2 separate regions of the Homo sapiens genome follow, and region 2 is linked to region 1. The links are contacts of gene promoters, found by promoter capture Hi-C in human tissues and cell types (Jung and others, 2019). All regions are on one chromosome and are shown on one strand. Each heading gives the region's core, a stretch centred on a gene start or on the middle of the fragment in contact. The rest is flanking DNA. Distances are from core to core; before and after follow the strand shown.

What was found. The method cuts DNA at HindIII sites, captures the fragments that hold promoters and counts their contacts. A contact is called where the count stands out against the background at its distance.
Region 2: a fragment that was not itself captured here is called in contact with the fragment with the promoter of DDX19B in region 1 in 1 of the 25 tissues and cell types used here (aorta).

The regions. Positions count from the first base shown.
Region 1 is chr16:70,297,456-70,301,229 of GRCh38, reverse strand. It overlaps DDX19B (DEAD-box helicase 19B), which reads right to left and starts at 2,044. Exons shown (of 12, transcript NM_007242.7): 1 at 1,876-2,044. The coding sequence starts at 1,932. RefSeq lists enhancers at 1,969-2,198, 1,930-2,224. The HindIII fragment of the contact is 9,873 bases long and covers 1-2,880 here.
Region 2 is chr16:71,447,722-71,451,495 of GRCh38, reverse strand. It overlaps ZNF23 (zinc finger protein 23), which reads left to right. Exons shown (of 5, transcript NM_001381984.1): 5 at 1,611-3,774. The coding sequence ends at 3,403. Among named protein-coding and RNA genes, the nearest start is that of TLE7, 7.6 kb to the right of the region's middle. The HindIII fragment of the contact is 5,546 bases long and covers 1-3,774 here.

The sequences.
Region 1 (3,774 bases), core at 795-3,294:
CTCCAGAAAGCTGACAGATGGCTGCACTAAAATAAGGAATAAATCAAGAAAGATGGAAAAGTAGGGGTACAGAAAGGAAGGGATCCAAGAGATCCAAAAGACAAGAGAAAGGAGGAAGGAATCTGCAGAATGAGGCTGAAGGGAAATTTGCCCTGTTCCCTCTATTCCCCAATATGAACTGTGCTCTAAAGACAGGAGTAACTAGTCCAATTTGAAGCAGACTTAAAGGCCTAGGAGAAATGGAATTGATAGAATACTTGATGAGTCTAAGCATCCTGAGATAAACTTAGACAACTGGAAGACAGTTTGGGGTTGAATTGATAATTAAGAAAAAAAAATGAAGCATAAACATAAGGCAATTAAGAATTCCAAGTAAAATAAATTTTATAGAAAAGTAAAGGGCCAGGCAAAGTGGCTCAGGCCTATAATCCCAACACTTTGGGAGGCCGAGGTGGGAGGATGGCTTGAGCCCAGCAGGTCAAGACCAACCTGGGTAATATAGTGAGACCTCGTCTTCACAAAAAATTAAAAAGTTAGCTGCATATGTTGGCACATGCTTGTAGTCCCGGTTACTCAGGAAGCTGAGGTGGGAGGATCACTTGAGCCTGGGAAGGGGAGGTTGTAGTTGGCAAGAGATGGTGTCAATGCACTCCAGCCTGGGTGACAGGGCAAGACCCTCTCTCAAAAAATATATGTAAAGAAAGAAAGAAACAGAAAAAAGAGGCTGGATGCAGTGGCTCACACCTGTAATCCCAGCACTTTGGGAGGCTGAGGCAGGTGGATCACTTGCACGCTGGAGTTCGAGACCAGCCTGGGCAACATGGCAAGTCCCCATCTCTACAAAAAAAATACAAAAAGTAGTTGGGCATAGTGGCACATGACTACAGTCCCAGTTACTCAGGAGGCTGAGGTGGGAGGATGGCTTGAGCCTGGGAGGCAGAGACTGCAGTGAGCCAAGATCACTCCACTGCACCCTAGCCTGGGCAACAGAGTGTGACCCTGTCTCCAAAAAAAAAAAAGGAGTTGCCTCTGGGGAGGAAAAAAATTGGCGGGAACCGTTGTTTTTAAAATAACTTCACTCTTTAAACAATGTGTATATACAACTTATTTTTTATGAGCTATAAAAAATAAAAGACAAGGTTCTTATTCTTGAGGAAGTCATAGCAATAAGTACTAACAGAAGTAGGTTCAAAGCCTACTAGGATTTAAAGTGTTTCGGTGGGAGAAATTAATTCTACGCAGTAGTGTTTAACACATCTCTTGCTTACCATGTGTCAGGTCCAGAAAAAAAGAACAAAGTGAAGCCGATGAGGAAAGGATTTGCTGACTGCCACACCTACTGGGTCCATCATTTATCACTGAGGAAGCACACAAATATGAGCAAAGACATGGTCCCTGAGCCAAAGAAGCTCTGAATGTAGAGGTGGAGAATGACACCTAAAATAACTATTACAAACCGGGGCGGCCAGGAACAATGGCTCAGCCTGTAATCCTGGTGCTTTGAAAGGCCGAGGCAGGAAGATAGCTTGAGACCAGGAGTTCCAGACTAGCCTGGGCAACCTAGCAAGACCATGTCTCTATTTCAATTAAAAACAAACAAAACACAATCTAGGGTGATGGGTGCAATCTATGATTCTTCCTGGTTCCAGGAAGACAGACAGGCAGCTGAGCGCTTTACCGATAGGAGCACTCACCTGCGCTTACGTAACGCGGAGGCGGCTGCGTAAACAAAGCCAGCTCAGGGTCCAGGCTCCATCCCTATCCTCCCCGCCACCCCATCCAGCCTCTAATCAACCTGGGAAACATTCTTTCCCAGGGACCAAGTCTCCGACCAGAACTAGTCCCCTGACCCTTTTAGGGCTGAAGCCAACTCACCGACTCAGCCGCAGCTTCCTGCTCGTCCACCGCCAGGGCCCATGAGTCAGTGGCCATGGTCCCAGGCGCGGGTGGGACGCTCGTGCTGGTGGATTCGAGGGATGGCACGAGGGATCGTGGGCTCCGGGGGTTCGCGGCAGGCTCTGCTCCAGCCCCACTACAAGGCTGCAGACCGGAAGCGGCGCGCCACAGTGACGTCGGAGGCCACTCCTGTTTGGCCACCCTTTGCCCACTTGAGGCTGTCGATTCTGTTGCCCTCAGACCCGTACCCCTCAACCCCGGGCAGAGCAAGCTTTCCTATCAAGCTGAGGTAGTTATCTTAAAATGCCTAAGCTCTGGTTAACTTGGATCTCCAACCAAAGAACAAAATCAGATTCCCGCCCAACACAGTGGCAGAGTAGGCACTAATACAGATTGAACAGATTGAATATATCAAAACAGAAAACCATTACCAATAGTCACCAAAATGCAAAACAAGCACAGAGCTGTTTCCCTTTTCAGATTGGTAATTTAAAATGTCCAGATGTTGGCAATCAGCCCTGACAACCCATTTGGTTAAAAGTCCACTTGACCACTATGCAATCTTGTTAGGCATGTAACAAAACTGCACCTGCACTCATAAATTTGTACCCCAAGAGGAGGAATTGCAGCTCTCCTATGTAAGCGTTGTAGAATCAGGAGAATGTTAAAAAGGAAGAAAACAGACGGTGCGGTGGCTCATGCATGTAATCCCAGCACTTCTGGAGGCCGAGGCGGAAGGATCACTTGAGCCCAGGAGGTCTAGGCTGCAGTGAGCCATGACAGGGCCACTGCACTCCAGCCTGGGTGACAGAGCAAAACTCTGTCTAGGAAAAAAATAAATAAAATTAAAATAGTAAAATAATTAAATAGAGCTAGGTGTGGTGGCTCATGCCTGTAATCTCAGCACTTGGGTTTTTGTTTGTTTTTTGAGATTGAGTCTGGCTCTGTCGCCCAGGCTGGAGTGCAGTGGCACGATTTCGGCTCACTGCAACCTCCACCTCCTGGGTTCAAGAAATTCTCTTGCCTCAGCCTCCCAAGTAGCTGGGATTACAAGCATGCGCCACCATGCCCAGCTAGTTTTTCTATTTTTAATAGAGATGGTGTTTCACCATGTTGGCCAGGATGGTCTCAATCTCCTGACCTCGTGATCCGCCTGCCTTGGCCTCCCAAAGTGCTGGGATTACAGGCGTGAGCCACTGCACCCGGCCTTTTGTTTTTTTAAGATAGAGACAGATCTTGCTGTGTTGTCCTGGCTGGTCTCAAACTCCTGAGCTCAAGTGATCCTCCCACCTCCACCTCCCAAAGTGCCAGGATTGGCCAGGCACAGTAGCTCACATGTGTAATCCTAGCATTTTGGGAGGTGGAGGTGGGAGGATCGCTTGAATCCAGGAGTTTGAAAACAACAACATAGCGAGGCCTTATCCTTACACAAGAAAAATTTAAAAATTAGCCAGGTGTCGTCGCACATGCCTGCAGTTCCAGCTACTTGGGAGGCTGAGGTGGGAGGATCACTTGAGCCCAGGAGGTTGAGGCTGCAGTTAGCAGTGTTTGTGTCACTGCACTCTAGTCTGCGCAACAGAGTAAGACTCTGCCTCATAAACAAATAAATAAATAGGAAGAAATATCTTGGGCTTTTAGTAGTTGTAAAATAAGGATTAAATGAAAGAACTGCTTTCTCCTAACTAGAATCAAAGAAGCTTCTCTTCCCTTGTTACTTCCCTAGAAAGAAACTAGGCATTTTCCTACAATCTGAAAAAAATGAATCCCAACCTCTTTCATTTTGCCAATATTATACAACAATAAGTTAATTTCAAGCCATGAGGCCGGGCACAATGGCTCACACCTGTAATCCCAGCACTTTGGGAGGCCAAGGTGGGT
Region 2 (3,774 bases), core at 913-3,412, 1.2 Mb before region 1:
TCCTGATACAATCACATCAGGGGTTAGGACTTCAGAATATGAATTTGTGGGGAGGACAAACATTCAGTCTATAGCAACAGATGAGTATTATTTTTTTAGTTGGGAAGAGACCAGTATTATTTAGAAAGTGCTTGCTGGGGAATCCAGGCAATTGGAGGGGCTTATTGAGGGCAATTATGAAATACTGGGGCAGGGGGCATATTACATGTGGTTGAGGAGTGATGAAAGATGAAAAAATATGAGGCAGCATTTTGGGACTGAGCTTTTGAGAAAGTTGGGAACAAATGCAGAGATGAGTAGTTCTAGTTCTAAAGACTATTGGGATTATAAAAAGATTTTTAGGGAATGATCAAGTTTAGGATTAGAGGAAGAAGTGAAAGGAAAAGGCAAGGTTAATGCAGCAGTATTTGGAGGGGAATGGGAAGAAAGGGGATGAGATGGACCTCAAATAGAGCCTGTCTAAAGTAGAAATGAAGTTGAAGGACAAATTTTGGAAAGCCCACAGTTAATGTTCTAAGGAAAGAAACAAAATTATTTCCATTTTGCTCCCTGGTGCTGCTGACTGTTGTCATCTTCCAAGTTGCCATATTCTGTTGGATCCTGTGCCTTTTCCTTCTTCAGCATTTTCCATTTTTTTTTAAGTAAGGAACTGAGTGCTATAGGAACAACTAAGAAGAAACTGCAGGGTGTAGAAAAGCATGGTGTGATTAAAAGAATGCTGAGCTGGTGGACAAGACCTAGAATTTTATTCCACTACTGTCACTTTTTTTTTTTTTTGAGATGGAGTCTCGCTCTGTCGCCCAAACTGGAGTGCAGTGGCAAGAACTTGGCTCACCGCAACTTCCGTTTCCCGGGTTCGAGCAATTCTCCTGCCTCATCCTCCCGAGTAGCTGGAACTACAGGCACGTACCACCACACCCGGCTAATTTTTTGTGGTTTAGTAGAGACGGGGTTTCACTGTGTTGCCCAGGCTGGTTGCAAACTCCCAAGCTCAGGCAATCTGCCTGCTTCAGCCTCCCAAAGTGTTGGGATTACAGGTGTGAGCTACCGTGCCCAGCTGTCACTTTTAACCTTCATGTGATTGGTTATGTTCTCTACAGTGGCCTTGTATTAGGCACAGTGGGAATGGTGATTTTTTTTTTATCATTACTTTCATTGCTTTTCATTACTTTCATAATATTGACACCTATTCAACAGTACAGAAAGTGTATAAAGTAGGGAAGCAAGTCCACTAAACTTCCTATGCCAGTTTATTTAGTTTCTTATGGATTCTTCTAGAAGTTTTCTAGGTATGTACAAATATATATATCTGTCTTTTATATTTTTCTTTACACAGCTGAAAATCTATTCTATATACTGTTTTTTCAACTTGTTTTTCCATTTGATTGTATCTTGGATGTCTTTTTACGTCAGCATATATGGATTTATTGTATTCTTTTACTAGTTAGTTACAAATTACTTATCCCACCTTATGGAGAAACCCTATGTTTTTTGACCTAGTCTGGTGATTTTAAGGAGCCCCCTGATTATTATGGTCTTTTATAGCACAGTTCTCTTCTTTTTCCTAACATGGTTCTTACATGACATTTTATGTTTTCTGTTTTTTATAGTAGATATTCAGACTGACAATGATTTGACAAAGGAAATGTATGAAGGAAAAGAGAATGTATCATTTGAACTTCAAAGAGACTTTTCCCAGGAAACAGACTTTTCAGAAGCCTCTCTTCTAGAGAAACAACAGGAAGTCCACTCAGCAGGAAATATAAAGAAGGAGAAGAGCAACACCATTGATGGAACAGTGAAAGATGAGACAAGCCCCGTGGAGGAGTGTTTTTTTAGTCAAAGTTCAAACTCATATCAGTGTCATACCATCACTGGAGAGCAGCCCTCTGGGTGTACAGGATTGGGGAAATCCATCAGCTTTGATACAAAACTCGTGAAGCATGAAATAATTAATTCTGAGGAAAGACCTTTCAAATGTGAAGAATTAGTAGAGCCCTTTAGGTGTGACTCTCAACTTATTCAACATCAAGAGAACAACACTGAGGAAAAGCCTTATCAGTGTTCGGAGTGTGGCAAAGCTTTCAGCATTAATGAGAAATTAATTTGGCATCAGAGACTTCACAGTGGGGAGAAACCCTTCAAATGTGTGGAGTGTGGGAAAAGCTTCAGCTACAGTTCCCATTATATCACACATCAGACAATCCACAGTGGGGAGAAGCCCTATCAGTGTAAGATGTGTGGGAAGGCCTTCAGTGTTAATGGAAGCCTAAGTAGGCATCAGAGAATCCATACGGGAGAGAAGCCCTATCAGTGCAAGGAATGTGGAAATGGCTTCAGCTGTAGTTCTGCATATATTACACATCAGAGAGTCCACACTGGAGAGAAACCTTACGAGTGTAATGACTGTGGGAAAGCGTTCAATGTTAATGCAAAATTAATTCAACATCAGAGAATCCATACTGGAGAGAAACCTTATGAATGTAATGAATGTGGAAAAGGCTTCAGGTGCAGCTCCCAGCTTAGGCAGCATCAGAGCATCCACACAGGAGAAAAGCCCTATCAGTGTAAAGAGTGTGGAAAAGGCTTCAATAATAATACAAAACTCATTCAGCATCAGAGAATCCACACAGGTGAGAAACCCTATGAATGCACTGAATGTGGAAAAGCCTTCAGTGTCAAAGGGAAGTTAATCCAACACCAGAGAATTCACACAGGCGAGAAACCCTATGAGTGTAATGAATGCGGGAAAGCCTTCAGATGTAACTCCCAATTTCGGCAGCATCTGAGAATTCACACTGGGGAGAAGCCCTATGAGTGTAATGAGTGTGGAAAGGCCTTCAGCGTTAATGGGAAACTAATGCGGCATCAGAGAATTCACACTGGGGAGAAACCTTTTGAATGTAATGAGTGTGGGAGATGCTTTACTTCTAAAAGAAACCTACTTGATCATCACCGAATCCATACTGGAGAAAAGCCCTATCAATGTAAGGAATGTGGGAAAGCCTTCAGTATCAATGCCAAACTAACTAGGCATCAGAGGATACATACTGGGGAGAAACCTTTCAAATGTATGGAATGTGAGAAAGCATTCAGCTGTAGTTCTAACTATATTGTGCACCAGAGAATCCATACAGGAGAGAAACCCTTTCAGTGTAAGGAGTGTGGAAAAGCCTTCCATGTTAATGCCCATTTAATTCGGCATCAGAGAAGCCACACTGGGGAGAAACCCTTCAGATGTGTGGAATGTGGCAAAGGCTTCAGCTTTAGTTCTGACTACATTATACATCAGACAGTCCACACTTGGAAGAAACCCTATATGTGTAGTGTGTGTGGGAAAGCATTCAGGTTTAGCTTCCAGCTCAGTCAGCATCAGAGTGTCCATAGTGAAGGAAAATCCTAATAATGAGAAAGATATAGAAAACTCTTAAGGTTAATGCCAAAATGGATCAAGTATCATCAGATTCATCCATTGAAAAACCTCCAAGAGGGCATGAATATGGCAGAGTCTTCATATGGAAACAGTTTTTATTCTATTCAGTTTAAATCAGGAAAGGATGACCAGTTAAAGAGAAACATCCAAAAATAGCTTTGTTTTGTACCAACAGGAATTAGAAAATATAATGAAAAGATTTCGTTCCCAGCAGCATCAAGAAAAGTAGATTTTCTAGAAATAAACAGTTATGGAGGACTTGTATGGAGAAATTTAAGTCTTCACTGAGGGCCACTTTACAAAGGAAATTTGAATAAATGGAGAGAGAGAGAAGCCTTGTT